Regions from separate parts of the Homo sapiens genome. Here all the other regions are linked to region 3. Evidence: promoter capture Hi-C in 16 types of primary human blood cells and fetal thymus (Javierre and others, 2016). All regions are on one chromosome and are shown on one strand. The core of a region is centred on a gene start or on the middle of the fragment in contact, and the rest is flanking DNA. Distances in the headings are between cores, read along the strand shown. Region 1 holds the start of GBP1 (guanylate binding protein 1). Region 2 overlaps KYAT3 (kynurenine aminotransferase 3). Region 3 holds the start of LRRC8C (leucine rich repeat containing 8 VRAC subunit C). Region 4 overlaps GBP2 (guanylate binding protein 2). Region 5 overlaps KYAT3 (kynurenine aminotransferase 3).

The links. Contacts are between HindIII fragments. The CHiCAGO score rates a contact against its expected background, and 5 or more counts as called.
Region 1: a fragment that was not itself captured here is called in contact with the fragment with the promoter of LRRC8C in region 3 in 4 of 17 cell types (total CD8 T cells, non-activated CD4 T cells, naive CD8 T cells and 1 more); the score reaches 6.5 in total CD8 T cells.
Region 2: a contact is called between a fragment that was not itself captured here and the fragment with the promoter of LRRC8C in region 3, in 13 of 17 cell types (naive CD8 T cells, activated CD4 T cells, erythroblasts and 10 more). The highest score is 11.7, in naive CD8 T cells.
Region 4: a contact is called between a fragment that was not itself captured here and the fragment with the promoter of LRRC8C in region 3, in 1 of 17 cell types (total CD8 T cells). The highest score is 6.0, in total CD8 T cells.
Region 5: a contact is called between a fragment that was not itself captured here and the fragment with the promoter of LRRC8C in region 3, in 1 of 17 cell types (activated CD4 T cells). The highest score is 5.5, in activated CD4 T cells.

What each region holds. Positions count from the first base shown.
Region 1 is chr1:89,060,964-89,065,943 of GRCh38, reverse strand. It overlaps GBP1 (guanylate binding protein 1), which reads left to right and starts at 736. Exons shown (of 11, transcript NM_002053.3): 1 at 736-784; 2 at 2,691-2,899. The coding sequence starts at 2,710. All of the region lies in intron 2 of LOC105378841 (a long non-coding RNA gene), which reads right to left. RefSeq lists an enhancer at 440-539. The HindIII fragment of the contact is 1,497 bases long and covers 522-2,018 here.
Region 2 is chr1:88,983,379-88,988,119 of GRCh38, reverse strand. All of the region lies in intron 2 of KYAT3 (kynurenine aminotransferase 3), which reads left to right. It overlaps RBMXL1 (RBMX like 1), which reads left to right. Exons shown (of 3, transcript NM_001162536.3): 3 at 4,054-4,741. The coding sequence starts at 4,294. Among named protein-coding and RNA genes, the nearest start is that of KYAT3, 6.9 kb to the left of the region's middle. The HindIII fragment of the contact is 3,376 bases long and covers 1-3,056 here.
Region 3 is chr1:89,631,539-89,636,257 of GRCh38, reverse strand. It overlaps LRRC8C (leucine rich repeat containing 8 VRAC subunit C), which reads right to left and starts at 3,138. Exons shown (of 3, transcript NM_032270.5): 1 at 2,936-3,138. It overlaps LRRC8C-DT (LRRC8C divergent transcript), which reads left to right and starts at 3,364. Exons shown (of 3, transcript NR_033981.1): 1 at 3,364-3,601; 2 at 4,049-4,242. RefSeq lists enhancers at 2,167-2,216, 2,247-2,296 and a silencer at 2,677-3,336. The HindIII fragment of the contact is 6,667 bases long and covers 1-4,719 here.
Region 4 is chr1:89,118,557-89,123,143 of GRCh38, reverse strand. It overlaps GBP2 (guanylate binding protein 2), which reads left to right. Exons shown (of 11, transcript NM_004120.5): 2 at 1,161-1,367; 3 at 1,874-2,001; 4 at 2,856-2,965. The coding sequence starts at 1,178. LOC112268267 (a long non-coding RNA gene) reads right to left here. Exons shown (of 2, transcript XR_007066213.1): 2 at 1-4,233. Among named protein-coding and RNA genes, the nearest start is that of GBP2, 5.3 kb to the left of the region's middle. RefSeq lists a silencer at 1,184-1,478. The HindIII fragment of the contact is 809 bases long and covers 1,674-2,482 here.
Region 5 is chr1:88,965,272-88,969,639 of GRCh38, reverse strand. It overlaps KYAT3 (kynurenine aminotransferase 3), which reads left to right. Exons shown (of 14, transcript NM_001008661.3): 3 at 173-231; 4 at 826-970. Among named protein-coding and RNA genes, the nearest start is that of KYAT3, 25 kb to the left of the region's middle. The HindIII fragment of the contact is 6,056 bases long and covers 1-4,368 here.

The DNA of each region.
Region 1 (4,980 bases), core at 21-2,520, 570 kb after region 3:
TTCACTTAGTAAATAAGCAGCATAGTGAAGTGGTTCAAGAAGAGGGTATGGGATCATGAGTGCTTGGGTTCAGATTAGTTACAGTGTTATGATTTTAGACAACTAATAAAGTCTTTCTGTGCTCAGTTTCTATAAAACCATGAGGAAATATTATGAGTTTTCAGTTGTGCGATTCATGTAAAGCCATCAGTACTGAGCCTAGAACATGAGTACAACACATGGAGCCCCCTCCTGGCTGTGTGCTGGGCATTAAGTGCCAGGGGTTAGGTGTTCATGAGTGTGTTAAACATGTCCTTTCCTTATGTACTGCACCTCTCAAAGAATAGGCAGCTCCATTGAGAGTGTGTCTATTATTTTAGGAAATTGTAGCTGAAAATTAACATGATGCCTCCTCATTCTAGGTTTCTCAAATTGACTCAATCCATGAGACATGTATCATTGTATTCAAAACCTAATGGGCATTTTGTTAGACAACAAATGGTCTCTAAGATTTCCAACAACAACAAAAAAAATTTGAAGCTTCTGGTTGAGAAATCTTTAAACCCTCCCACTGGCACACTCCACTAATTCCATTTATGGTAGTGGAGTCAGTGATTTGAACGAAGTACTTTCAGTTTCATATTACTCTAAATCCATTACAAATCTGCTTAGCTTCTAAATATTTCATCAATGAGGAAATCCCAGCCCTACAACTTCGGAACAGTGAAATATTAGTCCAGGGATCCAGTGAGAGACACAGAAGTGCTAGAAGCCAGTGCTCGTGAACTAAGGAGAAAAAGAACAGGTAAGAACTTTTACTACTTCTCATCAAGCAGCTTTCTCTCTAGCTCCAAAGGATCTCAGCTCAGTGATATGGAACCTATAAGGTTGTGGCAGGGATGGGAAGGAATTTATAAAGGTCAGTTCATTTTCTTAAACATCATCAGAACCAAATTAGGCTGCAGATGAGCCTGAAGTGGGACGCAGGTCAGATGAAATCCTGGTGTTATCAGGGACAGCATGGCCTTAAGTGCCACTACAGTGCTTGTGTTGAATTAGGCACCAGTAGACAGGGGCTAAACTGAGCATTTGAAATGTACTAGGATAGTCTTTCTCTTTGTTGACATTATCTATGTTGACTAGGGATATGATTACATTTCCATCGTCAGTGATGGACTGAATCCTGCTTCTATGCAGCTAAGAAATGGAAGAGTTACAAACGGGTTCTTTTCATGGAAGGAAAGAACAGCAAATGAGAAGCAGAGTAAGCAGCCCACTGACACGGTTAAAGACAAAGAAAAAACTGAAACTCAGCCTGAAAGATGAAGATTCATGAAAACAGTATACTTTTTATTACACTTGTGAACTTTGTTTCAGAATGGATTACTTTCTTTAGAAATAGTCCAGACTCACTAATTTCCTAGTGCCCACTGATCCCTGTCCCTTAGAAGTGAAATTCAACCCCACTGCTTCACTGAAGTGCTTCCAATTTTGTCTTCTTTTAGTAGAGAGCAGGGCCAAAAGTGTTTCCTCTTTAATTCTCCTGTAATGCATCTCTACAGAAAATATCTTTGCTTACTTTAACCTCTCCATGCACTCAGACTACTTTGATCCTGCCTTCTGCAAAGTCTTCCCCTGAATGCCTTGTCAAGACACTAGCCTCATTCATCACCTCTGGTCTGACAGCTCCTCTCTCTCTCTCTCTCTCTCTCTCTCTCTCTCTCACACACACACACACACACACACACACACACACACACACACATTCCCAGCCCCTTATCCTCCTCTCCACTCCTACTATTCCTCCTCTTTCTATTTCTCTTTCTCCTACCCTACCAAATGGAAAACAGAACAAAACAGAAATCCTAAAGCTGTATCGCTGGAAATATATTTTATTTGAACAACTTCCTAGGTAGCTCTCTTTATCTGCCTCTTGATCTTTTAATCCTTATTATCTGGAGGAAACATTCAGTATTTGCAATTTTGCATTCATACCCTCAGTGACTTAGAAGCTATCTTATCGTGACTCTAATGAAGCTTAAGTTTCAGGGCCCTTCTCTTGGACATGACCCTTAGGAGCCCTTGGAAGGTTCCCTAGCCATGTGTTTCACATGGTTGTATAGTTTTATAAAATTTGCAAAAGTATGTTACATTGTTACCACTTCCAGAATGGCAATGTGAGAAGCTTTGTCAATCCTCATTGCAGTGAAATAAGCATAATCATTTGAAGATGGAGGAAGGAACACATTTAAAAATCTTTGGAAATTTTTCTAAGGGTAAACATCAAACTATGAATACTGATTCACTGTGTTGGATGTTTATTCACTGTGAGAATTAATAAGTGAATCAATATTGAATTCCTTACATACAGCCAGGATGCAAATAAATCCTCTAAATCCTATTCTATCTTCCATTAATTGACTAGTGAAAATATCTAATAAGAATCCAAAAAGAAAGTTTTCCACAATAAACTAAATGAAATATTTGGGTCGTGAGAGTAGTTGAGTGTTGATAAGTCACTGTCATGCTAACATTTTTCATAATGAGCTACTTTGACAATACTTCCATAACTTTCTCAAATGATACAGATTTTGCCTCATCTCTTTTGCTGTCACACACAAAACTTTTGGCCATACTGGGGAATCTTATGATTCTCCCTTATAATTGCAAAACACTAGAAATTCTCATGTATTTCACCTCTTCTCTTGCAGACAAGGGAACAGCCTGGACATGGCATCAGAGATCCACATGACAGGCCCAATGTGCCTCATTGAGAACACTAATGGGCGACTGATGGCGAATCCAGAAGCTCTGAAGATCCTTTCTGCCATTACACAGCCTATGGTGGTGGTGGCAATTGTGGGCCTCTACCGCACAGGCAAATCCTACCTGATGAACAAGCTGGCTGGAAAGAAAAAGGGTGAGTGGCATGAGCAAAGCTCTGCCAAGTCCCTTCTGTCCATCTACACAGTCAGCCTCCATTATGAAGATGTGAGGAGAGAAAGAGATGAGGATGAATACTGAAAGCTAACTTTCCATTCACAGTCGGGCTCCTTATCTTCACGCTGTTCTAGGGGATAAGAATCAATTCATTAATTATTCCCATGATACCTTAGTTTCCATTTCAAAAGCACAAATTATGCCTCTCCTAAAAGGAGTAAGACAGTAATAAAAATAATTAATGTACATAATAATAACTATAATAAACTATACAATGTTTATTACAATTTTTATGCAATAACAGAGTTCACAGTGATCTTTAAGGTTGAAAAAATGTTTCAATCTGTAGTGGATATTATTTTTTGTTGTTGTAAAAAAAATAAAATTTAACCTCGTAACCATTTTTAAGTGTACAGCTCTGTAGCATTAATGAAATTCACATTGTTATACAGCTGTCACCTCCATCCATATCCAGAAATCTTTCATCTTGCCTAACAGAAACTGTATTAACTAAACAAAAGCTCCACATAAACCCATTGCCTGCCATCATTCTACATTCTATCTCTATGAATTTGACTACTACAGAAACCTTATATAAGTGGAATCATTCAATATTTGTCCTTTTATGACTGGCTTATTTCAATTCATATGTCTTCAAGGTTCATCAGTGTGTTAGCATGTGTCAAAACTCTTCCTTTTTAAGGCTTAGTAATTGTACGTGTATACTAATTTGTTTATCTCTTCATCTGTCAATGGACACTTGGATTTCTTCCACCTTTTGTCTATTATAAATAATGCTAATAGGAACATGGGTGTCTGAATATCTGTTCAAGTCCCTGCTTTCACTTCTTTTGGGAATATACCCAGAAGGGGAATTGCTGGCTCATGCAGTCATTGCATGTTAACTTTTTTTAAGAAATCACTATACCATTTTCCACAGTGACTGTACCGTTTTACATTCTCAACAGAAATGCACAAGGGTTCTAATTTCTCTACATCCTCACCAACATTTTTTATTTTCAGTGGTTTTTTTTTTTTATAGTGGCCATACGAATGGAAGTTAAGTAGTATCTCGTTGTGGTTTTGATTTTGATTTCCGTAATGACTAGTGATGTTGAGCATCTTTTCACGTGCTTATTGGCCACTTGTATATCTTCTTTGGGAGAATGTCTATTCAAGTCCATTGTTCATTTATTAATCTGGTTGTTTATTTCTGTTGCTTTGTAAATTTTTTTATATTTTCTAGATATCAATCCCTTATCATATACATGTTTAGAAACCATTTTCTTACATTCCGTGTGTTGCCTTTTTTAACTCTGTTGATAGTGTCCGTTAATACACAAAAGTTTTAAATTTTGCTGAAGTCCCACTAATCTATTTTTTCTTTTATTGTCTATAGTTTTGGTTTCTTATTCAAAAAATAATTTCCAAATCCAATATTATAAAACTTTTACCCTTTATTTTCTTCTACAACTTTTATAGTTTCAACTCTAATGTTTGGTTCTTTGATCCATTTTGAGTTCATATTTGTAAGTTATAAGGTAATAGCCCAACTTTTTAAGGAGATATATCATTTCCTCAACATCATTTGTTAAAGAGACTCTCCTTTCTTCATTAAATGATCTTGACACCCATACTGGAAATCATTTGACCATATATATCAGAGTTTATTCATGGGCTGTCTTTTCTATTCTATTGGTTTATATGTCAGTCTTTATACCAGTACCACACATGGTTTTGTAATACGTTTCACAACTCAGAAACTGTGAGACTCCAACTTTGCTCTTCCTTTTTATTTTTATAATTAGGGGATCTCTGGAAATTTCATATGAAATTTATGGTGGATTTTTCTATTTATACAAAGTAATTGGAATGTTGGTAGGGATTATATCAAACCTGTACATCACTTTGGGTAGTAGTGACATCTTAAGAATATTAAGTCTTCCAATCCATAAACACAGGATGTCTTTCTAATAACTTATGTCATCTATAATTTCTTTAAAGGGTGTTTGAAGTTTTCACTCTACAAGTCTTCCACCTGCTTGGTTAAGCTGATTCCTA
Region 2 (4,741 bases), core at 119-2,618, 650 kb after region 3:
TCTTGTCATTGACTAGAATTGACATTCACTGAGCAACTGCTTGCCTGTCTGTGGATCAGGCCATGTGCTGGTCATTATATATTCATTACCTCATTTTGTCTTCACAAAACCCTTCAAGTTATGAATATAGGTCCAGTGGCATGGGAAAAAAGTAGAAGAGGATATTTCAGGAGGACTGCTCAGGGATCGAAAAAGGTTTAAAACCCATAACCACCAAATACAATACGTACATCTGCTTTAGGAACTTGATTCAGTCAACCAAAATGCAGAAAGACATTTTTTAAAGACAATCAGAGAGATACGAATGTGGACTGGGTATTAGATGTTAACAAGAAATTATTGTTGGTGAGGTGTGGTAATGAAATTGCAGTTATATAAGTAGCAATATTTTTTAGATAATATGCCAAGTATGTAGGGATGTAATGACCTAAGGTCTAAGATTTATTCTAAAGTTACTCAGCAATTACAGAAAAAAAGAGGCAAAATCTTGAGAATTACTGAATCTGGGTAGTGTGCATATGAGTGTTTTATATTAGGTTAAAGTATATGAAATTGCTATTTTTGTATGAAAATTCCATTTTTGGCATATGAAGTACCATTTTTGTCATAACTGGTTGAATATTGACAATTTTGTATTCAACCTAATTCTAATCTCTCAACTGGTTTAAAATTTTCTCAGTGGTTTAAAATTTTCATAAAAACCATCATCAGTGTCTTCTATATGTAAATCTTATGAATTCTACCTCATAACTGTCTTGAATTCTCTCCTCTTTATGCCACCGTGACCACCTTTTTCAGGCCCTCTCCCAACATAGAAGTCGGTTGAAGCCAGGGAAGTGGTTGTGCTTCCCCAAGGTGAACATATGAAACCATGGCACTAAAAGGGCATTTGTGTGCACAATCCTCATTTGTGGAACTTTTATTAGACTACGTATGCCAGGGCTCACCATTATGCATTCTAATTCTACATATCTGGAATGTATTTTGAAAAATCTTTCCAGCTGATTCTGATGTATGTCCCAGGCAAAAACCACTGACAATGCATTATTCAAACTTGTGGACTATTTGGGATAGCACTAACCCCTCTCCATACCTAGCAGTGGAATGGTTGGGTTGTGTGGTAGCTTTATGTTTAATTAAGTAACTGCCAAAGTGTTTGTATCATTTTAACTACATTGGAAAAGTGTCTACAGTTCATCAGAGGCTTTGCATTTAAAATAGTCGCACAGGGATAAAGATAAATATTCTTCCTATTGCTGGACGAATGAAAAACACTGGCCAGTGTTACAAAAGCAATAGTGATAAGTTTAAATCAAGAAAGACTTGTCAGAACCAGCCAGATAAGTTACTGTGAACTTACTTAGAATATTCGTTTCATCCACATCATCCTTAATGTCATGAAAATCTGCCGGGAAGGGAATAGAATGAAGGATAGGCTGTATTTTCCTGTATTACTTGCTTTTTTACAAAAACATTTTACATATTCTCTAATTTTAAAGAATGTTTTGAATGCTAAAGGAAAAATGTAGGCGGGGCGCAGTGGCTAACACCTGCAATCCCAGCACTTTGGGAGGCTGAGGCCAGTGGATCGCTTGAGACCAGGAGTTCAAGACCAGCCTGGGCAACATGGCAAAACCTCATCTCTATTAAACATACAAAACATTAGCTGGGCACACACCTGTAGTCCAGGATGGTCTCAATCTCCTGACCTTGTGATCCACCTGCCTCGGCCTCCCAAAGTGCTGGGATTACAGGCGTGAGCCACCGCGCCTGGCCCTAAAATAGTCTATTAATTTTTTTTTTTTTAAGAGAGTCTAAAATTTAAATGTCCACCAGAGAAGCGCAAAAGCAACACTGGACAAAACCTTTTCCTTAGGTCTGTCCTTCCTTAAGGAAATCAACTCTCTCTGTCTCTCTCTCTCTCTCTTTTTTTTTTTTCATACAGTCTCTCACTCTTGCCGCCCAGGCTGGAGTGCAATGGCGCAATCTCGGCTCACTGCAGCCTCCGCCTCTCGGGTTCAAGCAATTCTCCTGCCTCAGCCTCCTGAGTAGCTGGGACTATAGGTGCCCGCCACCACTCCCGGCCAATATTTGTATTTTTTGTAGAGACGGGGTTTTGCCATGTTGGCCAGGCTGGTCTCAAACTACTGGGCTCAAGTGATCCACCCTCCTCAGCCTCCCAAAGTGCTGAGATTACAGGCATGAGTCACTGCGTCCAGCCCAACCCTCTCTTTTGATGTGAAAGTATCACCTTTTGTACATTTAGTCCATACCCAATATCTCTTTGCCTCCTTTAGTGCAAAGTTACTCATCCTTACTTGTATCTAAGAGAATCTTTCCTACTTTCTGAGTGGGCACTAGTTTTGGAGTATATATATTGTATGCCATGAACTATATTTTTCTGCTTATGGCTTTGCCTCATTTAATTGCCATAGCACTTACATGGGGCAGGTATTCATTTTCCTGCTTAGCAAATAAGGAAACTGAATTTCAGAGATGTCAGGTAACCTGCCTACTTCACACACTAGGAGTTTTGATGTTTAATTTTGAACTAAGATCTATCTGGCTTGAAAGCTCTTTGCATTAAACAACCTTGAACAATATACTTGGAACGTAGGTGTGTTTTTGGCACAGAACATGGCATGTGTGTGAGGGATTGAACACAGACTTGCCCAGATTCAAACTTACCAATCTTCTGTTTCATGTGCCCAGAAGAAACAGCCTGTTTCTCAGCCTCAAACCCAAACTTCTAGTTGTCTTGATTGGTTCAGCCTGACTGTCCAACTCTGATTTATAGCTGTGATTGGGGGAGCTGAGATTACACAGTGTAGGCAGGCAGAAGGGCCCCAGGCCTATTGATATGGGTGAGGACAATACTCACGCACTCCCTTCACTTACTCACTCTTCCAAGGTCTTGGCTTGAACCCAATTTTTTTTGAGAGAATAAACCAGGCTTTTTGTTCTCCACTTGGCCTGACTCCATTTCTGGCATTCCAGCCATGTATTTAGCTGTTATCAGCTTTCAGATTTAGAGAAAGCCTTGTTTCCAATAAGCTTGTTTCTCTGAAGTAATTGTTAAAATATAATTTTCAGAAAAAGGTTAAATCATGACTCATACAAATATAAAAATGAACATGTGCTAAAGATTTTTATTTCACTCATGTGATATGAAGTAACCAGACAGAAGTTATAACCAGTACATATGGAAAGTCAAAAAGCACAAATTCATATGTAGTAAAGGAATTGGATTGCAAATGAAGGCAAAACTGTTTTTTCTACAGGGTGGAGGGAAGATAATCAAAATGCTAGAACCAGAATTTGCATGCCTGTCACTTAGCTTCAATTTACAAAAGCCCAGAATAACTCAAAGGCAAATTCTAGCCCTGCAAATATCAGCCCTAAAGCTGTGCTGTGGCCAGTGCATAGTTTTCTATTGAAGTACAATTTTTTCCCCAAATACATTATCTCTCAGAGGGAGTCCAAATTGCTTCCCTTTCACTCAGCAGATCTGTTCAGTCAACAGATGTTAAATAGCTACAGCGTATCAGGCACAAATAATTCTTTATAAAATAAAGTAACAAACTATATGTTGTTTCAAAGTTCCAGTTAAGGCCAGCCGTGGTAGCTCACCCTTATAATCCCAACACTGGGAGGCCGAGGCAGGCGGATCACTTGGGCTAGGAGTTCCATACCAGCATGGCCAACATGGTGAAACCCTGCTCTACTAAAATACAAAAATTAGCCAGGTGTGGTGGCGCATGCCGGTAATCCAAGCTACTCAGGTGGCTGAGGCACAAGAATGGCTTGAGCCTGGGAGGCAGAGGTTGCAGTGAGCCAAGATTGCGCCGCTGCACTCCAGCCTGGGCAACACTGTGAGACTCCTGTCTACAAAAAAAAAAAAAAAAAAAAAAAAAAGCAACAAAAAAAGGGCTCCTGTTAATTATACACACTTTTGAGCTTAATATAATTGCATTTTTTATGTATCTTTAAGCATCTTTCCCTGCTTTACATTTCCACTTCTGAGTTTTACTTTCATTTCTTCCACCATTACAGGAACATTCTGTTGTTTTCCTCTGCCATCTAGTGGCAAAAGAAAGTAATTTTCCTGGTTTTTTGAATGGATAGCCATACCTTAAAAAGCATCCAGATTGCGCAGTAGTGCTAGCGGCTTCGCGGTTCAGTCCTCCTAACTGACAGCCGCCACTGGTGCTGAGCTGCTAGGAAGCCCCTGTCGGCGAGCTTGTTGGAGCTTGAACCCACTGTCACCCCTCCGACTCACCGGCAAAAAAAAAAATGGTTGAAGCAGATCGCCCAGGAAAGCTCTTCATTGGTGGGCTTAATACGGAAACAAATGAGAAAGCTCTTGAAACAGTATTTGGCAAATATGGACGAATAGTGGAAGTACTCTTGATAAAAGACCGTGAAACCAACAAATCAAGAGGATTTGCTTTTGTCACCTTTGAAAGCCCAGCAGACGCTAAGGATGCAGCCAGAGACATGAATGGAAAGTCATTAGATGGAAAAGCCATCAAGGTGGAACAAGCCACCAAACCATCATTTGAAAGAGGTAGACATGGACCGCCCCCACCTCCAAGAAGTAGAGGTCCTCCAAGAGGTTTTGGAGCTGGAAGAGGAGGAAGTGGAGGAACCAGGGGACCTCCTTCACGAGGAGGACACATGGATGATGGTGGATATTCCATGAATTTTAACATGAGTTCTTCCAGGGGACCACTCCCAGTAA
Region 3 (4,719 bases), core at 1,889-4,388:
GGATACACTGGTGTTAATCCTTACTGAGCACCTACTAGGTGACAAGAGCTGTCCTTTACATGCACTATTACAAGTAATCTGCACAGTGATCCAGCTAGGGAGGCTTTATTAATCCCATTATACAAGAGGAAACCAGGGTTCAAAGAAGTTGAATAATCTGACCTCATTTGCACTCCTACTGCACGGCAGAGTCCGAATTTGACAGCAGCTTTTTCTGGAGGCCATTCTCTTTACCCCATGCCAAACCAGAATGATTTATAGTTCAAAAGGAATCAAGTAGATTCAAGGATACCTCCATGGTTATGTAACCCTCATTAGTTGTAATATGCTTTTATGAGTGATCTGAAACTGGAGATACAGTCAACACTCCAGAAATGAAGTATAAAATCTTGGGAGTGTGTTACAGCCCATGAGACCATCATTGTCATGTCAGTGATAATAGCTGATGGGCAGGAGTAAATTGTCCATAAGGTTAAGCTCTGGATCAGTCATTTAAGAGAAATCAGTGGCAAGAACATGGGTTTTAGAAACAGATGGCCTTGATTCAAAATTGGAATTCTGTTATATGGAAAACGCTGGGCAGAAAACTTTACAATCTCTGTTTCCTCATATAGTCACTATGGTGAGTTAACAACAAATTTATATAGAAAAAATAAATAAGCAGCTTTGGATAATAAAAAAAAGTATATCATTAAGACTAAGGAGGCTTGGCTTCATTCAGGCACTAACTTAGCTGCATAGTCTTCAGCCAAATCAGAAACTCTGAACTTCCTTCTTATGTAAAATGTGGATGGCACCATTTACCTTAGGGGTTCATTGTAAGAACCTGAGATAATGTGTATTAGGTATCTAGCATGCAGCTAGATTATGTTATAGCAATGTACCATATTAAATCATTAACACAATTCTTGGCAAAATAAATATAGTTTCCACCTCATTTCATTTTAAACTTAGGCTCGCTCTATTATAATGTCATAGGTGACTATAACTTAATAATACTATAGAGTATTAAAAATCATAACAATTTGGTAAAAATTGAACACTTGGGAGTTAAACATATTTCTAACTTTGTATTGTTTTTTAAAAGATAAACTTCATGGAAATAAAGTGCAACATTTTCATTCATTTATCTTACAGCTCCTAATGCATTATTTTCACTAAAAGCATTCCCTTTTAAAAATACATTTCATTAAAGTGCTTAATCTGAGAAATAATAGATTAGTACTATTAATAAAGGCTTGATTTTATTAATAAGAAAATTGTTAAATATACTTGGTATCTCTGATACAATTGTTGGGTTGATGGGTCCTGTCTGTGCCCAATCTATTATGTGAACCATGGCAAATATCCATCTTTGCAAAACTGCCCTACATCCCCCTCAAAGGAAACAAACTGACCCCAAGACAGAACTTAATCACTCCAGAGTAAAGCAAACCAATTATAGCCTTGGCCTTCCCTGTTAAAGCAAGTCACAAGAAATGCAAATATCCTAGACTAGAGCTGTATACATTTAATGTTTGTTTACACACTCAACACATTGTTTATGAATTGAGCGAGTTTTATGCAGCTCAGATTACGTTTTGGGTTTTCAACAAATTATTTAAAAATAAACAGAATTTATAAATGTATAAAAATTATTGGCTCTGGCGATTTTGCAGCATTGTGCTAACCAAGAGGACTACTCCACTTTTACTCCTTTTTCGTCTAAATGGCATCTTAATGACCTGCCCACGCTGAAGCCTCATCGATGCTTTGGGAAACCATCACATACCTGTCGGGAAATGTGACTGTTGGTTAAGGCTACGTTTCTCACACTACCGCGAAAGAAGTATGTGACTTACAAACGGCTGCGATTTCCTTTACCTATTCCTTCCTTCAAAGGCTGCTTTAAATGGAGGTAATTCAAGCCTCCCCGTGCCAAACACCGGCACTCCAACAAAGATGGATTGGTTCTTATTTTTTACTTTGAGGATGGGAACCTGAAAATGTTTCCTAACGTTTGCTGAGGCTTTAACATGTTTAAGGAATTTGAAACCAAGGGAAGTTTAGCCGTAATACTCTGAAATATCCGCATTAGGATGCGGGCTAGGTGTCCGGCTGTTGCAAAACTACGGAGGATGCGAGGTTTGGAAGAAACTGTTTGGACTTTGCTGTATACCGGGCAGGCGTGGGGGTTGGGGAGGGAAGAACCGGCTGAGGGAGAAAAGAAAGGCATTCGTGTCCACAGAACACATCTAAGGCTCCTGAGTTGCTAACTCCATCCCTAATCATCTCATTGGTGGGAACCAGCTGGAAAGGGAAAGATCAGCGAGCCTAGGCGTGGGATGAAGGCAGCGGTTTTGGCCTCAACCGCTGGCCTAAACACCTGGCTTCTGGGGCCCGCCCGATCAAGCTGAACCCCTTCCCTCCTGTCCTGCAGGTGAGCACACGGTGCTCTCACGTTTCTTCGAGAAACCTTCCAATTCCTTTCCCTGCCCAAAAGTGCTAACTTCAAGGGTTCGGAGGTGGCAGGGGGGTGATAGACCGGAAAGGACTGGCCCCGGGGTCTCAGAGATTTTCGAGGTAGGAAAGAACAACGATCGCCCCGGCCACGGACGCATTTCCCCTCGCGGACCGCCCCCCCACCCCCGCGCCCAGTCTGCAGGACCTGCCGCTGCGGCGCGGCGTTGGGCGCCAGGCTGAGATCCTCGCGCGGCCGCTCGGGCTAGCGCGGATTGGGTGGGGTAGGGGTTGGCGGGCTCCTGAGCCGCAGTAGCGGAAGGTTCCCAGCACCACACGCCGGGCGGGCAACCACATTCTGCCTGTCTGAGAGCCGGGGGGAAGCAAGGACGCGAGTGAGGCGGGGCGAGTCCCGGTCCGGCGCGCACAGCGGACCGAGCGGGTGGCCCTCTGCGGGCTGCCCCTCTCCATCCCTCCGCGGATCCCCCGCCCTTACCTCCGGGCGCGAGAGTGTCGACTGGAGAAGGTGCTAGGGAGCGGCGAGCTGCCTGGGGGTCGGGCTCAGCGGCTGCCAGGGACGGCGGCGTCGCCCGCGGGGTCGCTGCTCATGGCTTGTCGCGCCCGAGCACTGCGGCCGCGGCCACGGCGGCGCCTTCCTCCTACTTCTCTTCGCGGGCTTCCAGCCGGGACGCAGCTAACGCCCCAGCCCCGCAAGCCCTCCTCCCCTCCGCCTCCCCGGCCGCGGACGGAGCCGCCTCCAGCGCCGCCCCGCACGCAGCCCGGCTAGCGGCAGCCAGCGCCGCCCAGCGCCCGGCCCCGGGGTCGCCACCGCCCGCCGAGTCGACTCCGCGGTGCCAGCCCCGCTGTGACGCAGGCCGCGCCGCCCGGGAACTTCCTCCCCTGCAGAGACCACCTCGCTCCCGGGACTCGCCAGCGAGGGATGCCGCCGGCCGCCGGGGGCCTTCTCCAGGACCAGGAGAGAAATCCTCTCTCCGCTTCACGACGCGGCCACTCCCACCCCTGAGACGCCCACCTGGCGGACTCTGAGGGAGGATTCGGCTGCGTCTAATACCACCTCCACCCCTCATCCCTCACAATGCGCGGAAAACCACAGGCGGCTGTGCGCGCAGCGTCGGCTCAGCCACCGCAGCTCCTCCCCTGGGTAAGTTAGAGGGGAGCAGCCACCACTAAAAATAGCCCTTCTGGGAACTCCTCCGAAGGCCAGGGTCAGGATGAAGATAACCCCTCCACAGGAGAAGCGAAGGCCTCCTAAGAGAAGGGTGGGGAGGGGACGGTGGGATAGAATGAGGAAGATGGAGAAGGAGAAAAGCAAAACCCAATATCCTTGGATCATGAAGCCCTTGAGCCCCTTGACAACCAAGTCTCCTTTCAGGCCGGAATCCCCAACTGCACCGCCCCTGCAATACGGGCTAAGGGGCAGATTCCAGGGAGACTCAGTTGGAATGCCCCGCCTACAGCTCCCGCATAAAGGAGTTGACGGTGCACAGCAAAACCACCTGTTGTTTAACGAGTATGGAGGGAGGGGTTCTCTCTCATTGATTGATCTGAACCGTGCTTTTCTTCTCCCCATTTTCCCACCCAATTTCAGGATGAAAAAGCACTCTGACGTCTTGAAAGCTGGCAGCTCTCTGTTTGGAAAATCTCTGCCCAGTGAAAAAATGTACCGACAAGATTACTAAGTAACACAGTCTTCTGGGAATGCCTTATCAATGCCAGCTATTTGAAGAGCACCCAAAGTCAAACTAGTGCTCCGCGCTGGCAGTCTGGAAAAGGCAGATGTATGTGAGTAGAGAAACTGATAGACAACTAGTTGCTGGCCAGTTGGCCTGTTTTCGTGCTACAAGCCTTCAGAAAACAGTCGCCTCCTTTTACCACGTTTCTATTTCTAAACCAAAATGAAAAGGACGTTTGTTCAAAAGATATTCTCTTGGGCTTTACATTGCTTTCCCCCTGCTCACTCAGCAAAATCCTACACTTTTTTTCCAATTCCAATGCTGCTGTTGGGTGTCCTTCCCAGAAGACAACCTTAAATTCTCTTAGGCCTTAGGAGCTGAATCTAACACCAGTCTTAATTAACCTACAACAAGACAAAAATTTAGGTCCGGGCTTACCTCCTAGTCAGCAGATGGGAAAAATTCCTAGAGAGTCTCTGGGAAAAAGGCAAAGGCTAACTTTAGCAGTTTGCTAGAAAAAAAAAAATTCAAGTACCTTGTAAGTCACCAGGGTAGATGCAGCAATACTCTCTAAGGTAGCTTTACC
Region 4 (4,587 bases), core at 829-3,328, 510 kb after region 3:
GTCAGAAGGAAAGACGCACTGAAAATATGATGGAAGCACGTCCATAGTACCTGGGCTACAGCTTGAAGGAGCTCTCAGTGAACTAATCTGGGACGAGTTGAGCAATGAGATAAATAGTGATAGTAAAGTGTTACCCATATGATAAATCTACACTGATCTACTATAGATCTACACTGATACAACTAAATGATTAAATAAGTAAATAAAATAAATAGAGGAGAAAGGGCAGTTCTTGCTCACATTAGAACTCTAATAAATGTAGAAGGAATGAAAATAGAAAATTACTTTTAGTCAAACATCACAGTAAGTTATAAGCAAGAATTATCAACAGATGCTAAAAATAGTGACTGAAAAAATTATGGAAGTATGATGAATCTTTATTTGCATAGTCTTCAAACTGTCTCTTCAAATGGTACTTTTTAGTGACAAAATGGTACATAACACTTTGTGGTAGAGAAACCTGGCAGAGAACACCTTAACCAAGTGATCAAAGTTAAGGTCACAGCACCAGAAAAAGTCATGTCAACATCATGAATCCCTTAATACAAGACACTGAAAATGGCAGAACATCACTTTGGTGACATTTGCAAAAAAAAATGTATAACTTCAATCTAATAATAAGGAAACATCAAAAAACCCAAATTGAGGGATATTCTACAAAATCATAGCCAGTCAACTTCTAAAATGTCAAAGACATGAAAGACAAGGAAAGAATAAGGAACTATCAAAGATGCAAGGAAAATACAGAAACATAATGACTAAATGCAATGAGGAATCCTGGATTGGGTCATGGAGCAGAAGGACATTAGTGGGAAACTGGTGAAATGTGAATAAGGAGTGTAAATTAGTTATCACTCTACCAATGTTAAAATCCTTGTTCTATGGTTATGGAAAATTTTAACTTTAGGGGAAATGATATATGGGAACTTTCCATACCCATTGTACATCTTTTCTGTAAGTGTATTTCAAAATAAAGTTATTTTTAAAGAAAGCCAGTGACCCAATTTGTAAGACAGCCTTAAAGAGAAACCAGGCTTTAAAAAACGTATATGAAAAAATGTTCAAGCATAGAAAACAAAAATTTAACCCATATTGTAAAGTTCAGCATAGCTAACTACCTAAAAACTGCTTTCCATTTCATCTTTTTCCTTGCACACAAGGGAACAACACCCTGGACATGGCTCCAGAGATCAACTTGCCGGGCCCAATGAGCCTCATTGATAACACTAAAGGGCAGCTGGTGGTGAATCCAGAAGCTCTGAAGATCCTATCTGCAATTACGCAGCCTGTGGTGGTGGTGGCGATTGTGGGCCTCTATCGCACAGGCAAATCCTACCTGATGAACAAGCTGGCTGGGAAGAAAAACGGTGAGTGACACCAGCAAAGCTCTAAGCCCCTTCTGTCCGTACACACGGCGAACATCCAGCTTAGGGATGTGAGCATAGAAAGAGATGAGAATGAATGTTGAAAGCTAACTTTCAGTCCATTAATGGGCTCTTTACATTGACTTTGGAGGATTACAGTCAACTGACTCTTCCCACTTTACTTTTATTTTATACTAAGGGTATAAATGTGCCTTTCTGGAAGGAACACAATGTTAATAAAGAAAATTAACTTCTATAATAATGACTTATAAAACATTTATTAAAATGTTCATGTAGTGACAGCAAGCTTTCAATGAACTTTAAGAAAAATATGAATGTTTCAGTGTGTATTAAATATCTAATTTTCCTGTTTCCAGGATTGTAATTAAGATTTATGCCAGTTGTATTTTCTTTTATCTCTTTTAACTTCAATTATGTTAACTTTTATCTCAATTTCCAGAAACACCTACTAAGTAATTTCTTTTCCCTTTTATCCTCTCCTTCTACAGGCTTCTCTCTAGGCTCCACAGTGAAGTCTCACACCAAGGGAATCTGGATGTGGTGTGTGCCTCATCCCAAGAAGCCAGAACACACCCTAGTTCTGCTCGACACTGAGGGCCTGGGAGATATAGAGAAGGTAAAAAAAATAAGTATTTTAAAAATTTCACTTAGGTAGATTAAAATCTACATAAACCAGGTCAGATCGATAACCATCTTTGCACAATCACTCCTACTCCTTGATTTAGGGCTCTAGTTAATTATATTAATATATTATTTCTTAAAATTTGTGTGGTATAAGCATTCAGAGTACACAATAAGTTCAATTGATTAATTATGGGTAAACCTATGAAATAATGGCTAATGATGTTTTCAGTTATTTCTCTTTCATATTATAGTAAAATGTTTTGGTGAGGCTGCTGAAGGTGCTTATAAACTTCAGTAGACGTTTTACAAACATGTCTGACTTTTTACAGTGGGATCCCACAAAGGTAGTAAAAATGTTCACATCCACACCAGCACCAGTAGAAAGAGAAGCAAAGTGTAAAATCTAATGATAACATCTTTGCTCATTAAGGATAATATATTACTACTGTTATAAATCTTAGACATAGAAAGCTTTTATTAAAGGAGCTTATTTTAACTACTGTGTAAAAAATATCTTACTATGATGTGCCATGGAAATGGAATAGGGTCATAAACTAAGTTTAGGGTACCAGTTTGAATTTTAGTAGCTGATCAAAATAGCTTCTCCTACCAAGTGCTCATGTGTTTCCTGCTGACATATATTTATATATAACACCTTAAATTATACATCATAAATATTATAAATTTGTTCTACAGGTAGAAAAAAATACTGCATAAGGAAGTGAGTTACCTAAGTTTTCAGAACTAATGAGAGACAGAGTTGGAGTTCAGTCAGTCTTCAGCTATCTGAATTGATTGTACATTCTGCTAGTCATTCTTCTTTGTGGCTTCTACAATGACTTACAGGGTGACAATGAGAATGACTCCTGGATCTTTGCCTTGGCCATCCTCCTGAGCAGCACCTTCGTGTACAATAGCATGGGAACCATCAACCAGCAGGCCATGGACCAACTTCAGTATCCTTTTTTGTGGTCCAGAACAGCAGTAAACCTAGAAAATAACAGCTTCATTTTTTCACCAAGTACAGAGGCAGACAGACAGGTACTGAAGAATTCATAAGTCCTCTCTTTAATAAATCTCATTATGCTGAACATCTCATTCTATCTCAATCTCCATCTGAACTTCAAGTCTTCCCAGTTACATGTCTCGTTAGATACTCAGCCACCCAAGACTCTGTATATCCTCTATCTGACTTAATCTCCTATGCCTGTCCAAACCTTCAATGTCCTCTAGAACTCATGTTCTCACTTCTGCAACTCTCTATATTCTTATCATCTGCTCTAAGTGTTGCCTTCTAAATGATACCTAGCTATACACTATAGATACTATTTCTCCTACAGACCTCTCCAGTGGTCTTATGTGATGACTATTTTTAATCCCATACCTTGCATATCATAAGTGTAAGAGATGAGTTAGGTATCCTCCTTGCTCCATATTAGAGTTCTGGACACTTTCTCATTCCTTTACCATTAAAAAGAGAATCTTCTTTAATATATATGCCCTCAGACTACACCACTATTTTTGTTGCAATTATCTAGCAACGTTCCAATAAATACATCCTTCATTCATTAAAGATTTTAGTTCCTAGTGTCTTTTTAGAGACTAGCAACCAATAGACAATTATTTAACACCCTGGTGTCTCAGTTCCATCACCTTATTGGAACTCTCCACCCTTATTGTCATTCTCCACTCTCACACATTACTTAACCTAGTTCATTATCAATGACCTCACCATTTCCATTAGCTTAGTTTCAAGCATTATACTGAATTAGATTTCATCAAGATCACCCCCATATTCCTATATGTAATGCACAGTTCTCACCTCATTTGATCTTCCAATCTTCCATAAGCCTTTTATTTCTCTAGGAGCATTACATAAATTTGATCCCTTCCACCTTTCTGAAATGCCTGTTTCACTTGGAATTGGTTCCTATTAGAATACCACATTTCCTAATTTTCCACCTTCCTTATTGGTAGACTTTTTCAGATTACTCTATCCTCTTTCTCCTTTTAGCCTCTAAATATTATAACACTTAAGTTCTTGTGCCTCTTTTCTTTTTCTGCTTTCAGTCCCCAGATGATCACATCCAGCTTCAAGGCTTTCAGTAGCACCAATATGTTTATCACCATCAAATCTGTATTCCCAAGCATGAGCAAATTCAAACTTTTGTATCCAGCTTCTGGTGCAACATCTCCATTCAGATGTGTAAGAGACATCTTGAGCCTAAAGTGTACAGAACAAAACTTAATTTTCCTGTCCAAAACAACTCCTTCCCAGTCTTTCTAATCACAATAAATTCCCACATCATTCATAGAAGTGCTCAGATCAAAAACTTAGGAATCATCTTGGATGATTCCATTCCTTATGTTTTGGAAATTATTAATCATCAAACTCCTTCAGCTCCACTATCAAAGTTATTTCTCTAGACTAGCCAATTCTCACTACTTGCTCCATTGCCTCTCATCTTGGTTATCTTTTCAACTACCTAATTGCTTTTTGTATTAGTTTTGTTTGTTTGTTTGTTTTGGCATACACACTTGACTCACAGATGCAATGCCAGCCAGTATGATTTAAAAA
Region 5 (4,368 bases), core at 431-2,930, 670 kb after region 3:
TAGGTGGGAGATGAATTCCTCTTCAGAATTTTGTGTTGGAGTCTAAGATTTATCTTTATGGAACTACTATTTACATGGTAACAGTAGGGAAAAGGAAGAAGAGTGACCCATGATTTACTGGCTTTTAAAATTTTGACTAAGGCAATTCCTTTTCAATATTTATATATTTCAGAAAATGTCACTGAAATTCACAAATGCAAAACGGATTGAAGGACTTGATAGTAATGTGTGGTGAGTATCTTAAAATAAATAATAATTTAGTGAGGGTTTCCTACATATTTTCGTATCTTTAGATGGGAGTTTTTTTTGCCTCATCCATGGTCTATAAATAAAGGTCCTCATTTAATTCATCCATTAAATGAAAATGGAAGGAAGTTAGCAATCCATATACTGAATTGTTCATTTGGCACATGTGCCATGCCCTTTGCTGGACACTGGACATATGGCAGAGAAAAGGACAAATGTTAATGCCCTCATGGAACTTAACCTCCAATCCAGGAACTTTTCTTATTAGTTCTGTTCTCTAATAGTTGATGAAAGAACTTAGCAGCAGCTGGAATTGTTGAGAAAATATATATATGTGGTTAAAATATGGGTAGCGTGAAACTGAGGTTTGTAAGGGACATTGGGTTCATAAATTCAGCCATCATTCTATTTGGTAAACTGATTTGTGGTTGGTAAATTTTTGTTGGAAACTCATTTTTTAAAACCTATAGGACTAAACTAGGGTCTTATTTGTCTGTTTTGTGGTAAGACTATAAGATATAAAAAAGCGAACTTTATAATTGTAGAACTTATTAATATTAGTATTTTTTTCAATCTTAGGATTGAATTTACCAAATTGGCTGCAGACCCTTCTGTTGTGAATCTTGGCCAAGGCTTTCCAGATATATCCCCTCCTACATATGTAAAAGAAGAATTATCAAAGATTGCAGCAATCGATAGCCTGAATCAGTATACACGAGGCTTTGTAAGTATATCAAGACCATATGGGCCATGAGCTTTTATTTTATACTGGGGTGTGTGTCTGTGTGTGTGCATGTGCCCTTCTGTCATTCATATATAAGTGACTTTCTGGGACCAGCTGTCCCATCCTAGCAACCACAGAAACTTCTGCCCTTGCCCTATGTCCTGAGATGAGCCTTCGCCTACTTCCAGCCCCTCTACACTTTTCTTTCTTTTGGCCCTTACTTTACTGTTGCTCCAAGATAGGATCCTATGGCAACACGATAAGGAACAACATTCTCTTGAGACATGTCTTTTCTATCTCATCAACATTTATGCAGCCTGAGCACTGACCCTTTATTTAATATATCCAACTAGCTACGTTTTTCCTCCTTGTGCCAGCTCACTCCCATCCTTCTGTAATGAAATGCCTAGGATAGCCAAAGATTTTCTAGATCAGACGTACCTTTGAACTGTAGACTTGTATCTGTTGTGCCAAAAGCCATACAATTATCATATGTCTGACCACTTGTCTTTTCCTTTTATGATATTGTGGGAAATGGGGAGGGGAATGGTATAGGAGGAAGCCTGTTTTTTGTCTTCTATAGTGGTCTAACTATAAAAATCCATAGAAGGGTTTTGCTTTGGGAATAGCACAGGGAAAAGCAGTGAAACTTACCTGTGTCACAGGGTTTGACACTGGTGAGAATCCCTGCTCTTCATAGATCTCACTCCCTGGCCCACCCTACAGACCCCCATCTCAGACCTACTCAACATAACTCACTCCCCAGCCTATACAAATCCATAATGAAAGGCTAGAAACAAACCAACAATAGAGAAAATTAATGAAACCAAAAGCTGGTTCTTTGAAAAGATCAATAAGTAAAAGTTTTAGCTAGATTGACCAATAAAAAAGAAAAAACTCAAAGTACCATATGAAGAATGAAAGAAGGAATATCATTACTGATCATACAAACATGAAAGCAATAATAGGATAATATTATGGATAATTTTATGTCAGTACATTGACAACTTGGATGAAATGAACAGATTATTTAAAAGATACAAATTACCAAAACTGACACAAGGAGAGATGAAAAATGCAACTAGCCCTATGTCAATGAAAGAAAATGAATTTGTAATTAAAGTCTTCCTGCAAACAAACCTCAATACCTAGATGGCTTATTAGTGAATTCTATCAAGTATTTAAGGAAGAACTATTAGGTCAGTGCAAAAGTAATTGCGGTTTTGCCATTAATTTTAATGACAAAAACCGCAATTACTTTTGCACAAACCTAATAATACCAGTTCTGCACACATTTATTCAGAAAGTGGAGCAGGATGAAAAACTTTTACTTATTGATCAACAATTTTTGTAATTTGAAAAATAAAGAAATGCCTAATGGTTTTGTCTGAACTTTTAATCAGGGGTTTTGTATCAGGGTAATGCTGGTCTCATAAAATTAGTTTCAGCATTACCCTGATACAAAAACTGATTTAAAAAATGCCAGCGAAAGAAATAAAGAAAACTCCAGTTCAATATCTCTCATGAACATAGAAACAAAGATTATGAAATTTTAGCAAATCAAATCCAGATATGTGTGTGTGCATGTGTGTGTGCCTGTGTGTATAAAGATATAAAAAGTAATACATCCTGACCAAGTAAGGTTTACCATAGGAATGCAGGATTAGTTTTAATATCCAAAAATTAATCATTGCAATTATGCTATATTATCAGAAAAAAAAGATCATCTTATGTAGTATATATAGAAAATGCATCTGACAAAATTCAACCCTCATTTATAATAAAAGTTTTCAGCCAATTAGAAATAGAATGGAGCTTTCTCACTCTGATAAAAGGAATCTATGAGAAACCTACAGATTACACCTGTAGTGCACATAATATAGTAAGATTGAAAAGACAGCAAAGATGTCCACTCTGACCATTGTTATTCATCAGTGTACTGGAGTCCTGTGAGATATAAAGATACATAGATTAGAAAGAAGAAAAATGTAAACTCATTTTCAGAAAACATGATTGTGTACATAGAATATCCTAAGGAATTCTAAAAGAAAAAAAAGCCTACTACAACTAATAAATGAATTGAGCAAGGTCACAGGACACAAAGCCAATATACAAAAATCAGTTGTATTTCTATATATTAAAATGAACAATTAGAAAGTAAAATTTTTTAAATACTATTTATAGTAGTATCCCAAAACACAAAACATTTAAGAATAAATTTTTTAAAATATATCCAAGATCTGTACGATGAAATCTATAAAACATTACTGAGAGAAATTAAGCAATACCTAAATAAATTGGGAATGATGTTCATGGATTGAGAGACTAAATATTGTCTATGTCAGTTTTCCCAAATTGGTCTATAGCAGGGTTTTGCAATCTATGGCCTATGGACCCAATATGTCAAATTTTGTAAATAAAGTTTCATTAGAACACAACCATACCCACTTATTTATTAATATGTATATTCTAGTTTTTGTAAATACATAGGTATATACATGTCTATGTGTTTTTATATTGGTATAAGCACTGAGAGTGGTGTTGCACTATCACCAGGCTGTGGACATTCATCACCTCAGGGGGATGGGAATGAAATAATATTGAGGAGCGATTGTAATTTTTATACATCTTTGCCTAGTTTTACTTATTGCATGAAGCATAAATTATTTTTGTATTTAAATTTTTAATTTTAAAAGCACAAACACTTATCATTCTAAGAAATGTATATAGTGTTTATAGTTGCTTTTCAGATCTCCTCTTGCTAGAATTTGTTAGACCTGCTATTAAAGTAAAATTCAAAGGAACTCAGTTTATTGCTCCAGAGCCCAAAGTGCTTTCAAACAAAGGTACATGACCTGCACTTGCACTCTTACTCTCAAGGGATAGAAAATCAGGATGGTACTTCAAAAGCAAAATGAGGAGGTAGATGCTGGACAGAAAACAACAGGAAATATTGACCTAAATACCAAATAAAACAAGGAGGGGGAAAGGAAAAGGAAGAAAAAAAAGGAAGGAAGGGGAGAGAGCCTAGAAGAGAACTTAGGGAGAGCTAATCCAGGAGTCTTCAGACCCCCTGCTTGCCTCAGGCTGTACCTTCATAATCCCTTCACTTCTCCTATGAAAGTAGTTACCTTGGATAACCACTGCTCTCTTGACTGTCAGTGTGAGTAGTGTCTCACTTCCTTCTAACATTTGCTATCACATCAACACTAGTGTTCGTGTCGTTGGTGAATTTGTTTTTGTTCTCTTTCCCTAGTCCATTGGTTGGCATAACCATCTCTCCAGCAATCAGGAAGAGCCAAGGAGTGGGTATACAGTTAAAGTGGGTTTTTTTCACTTATTTTAACTGGGAAACAAATCCAACTCTTTTCAATATGATTTAATTACTGTCAAAAAAT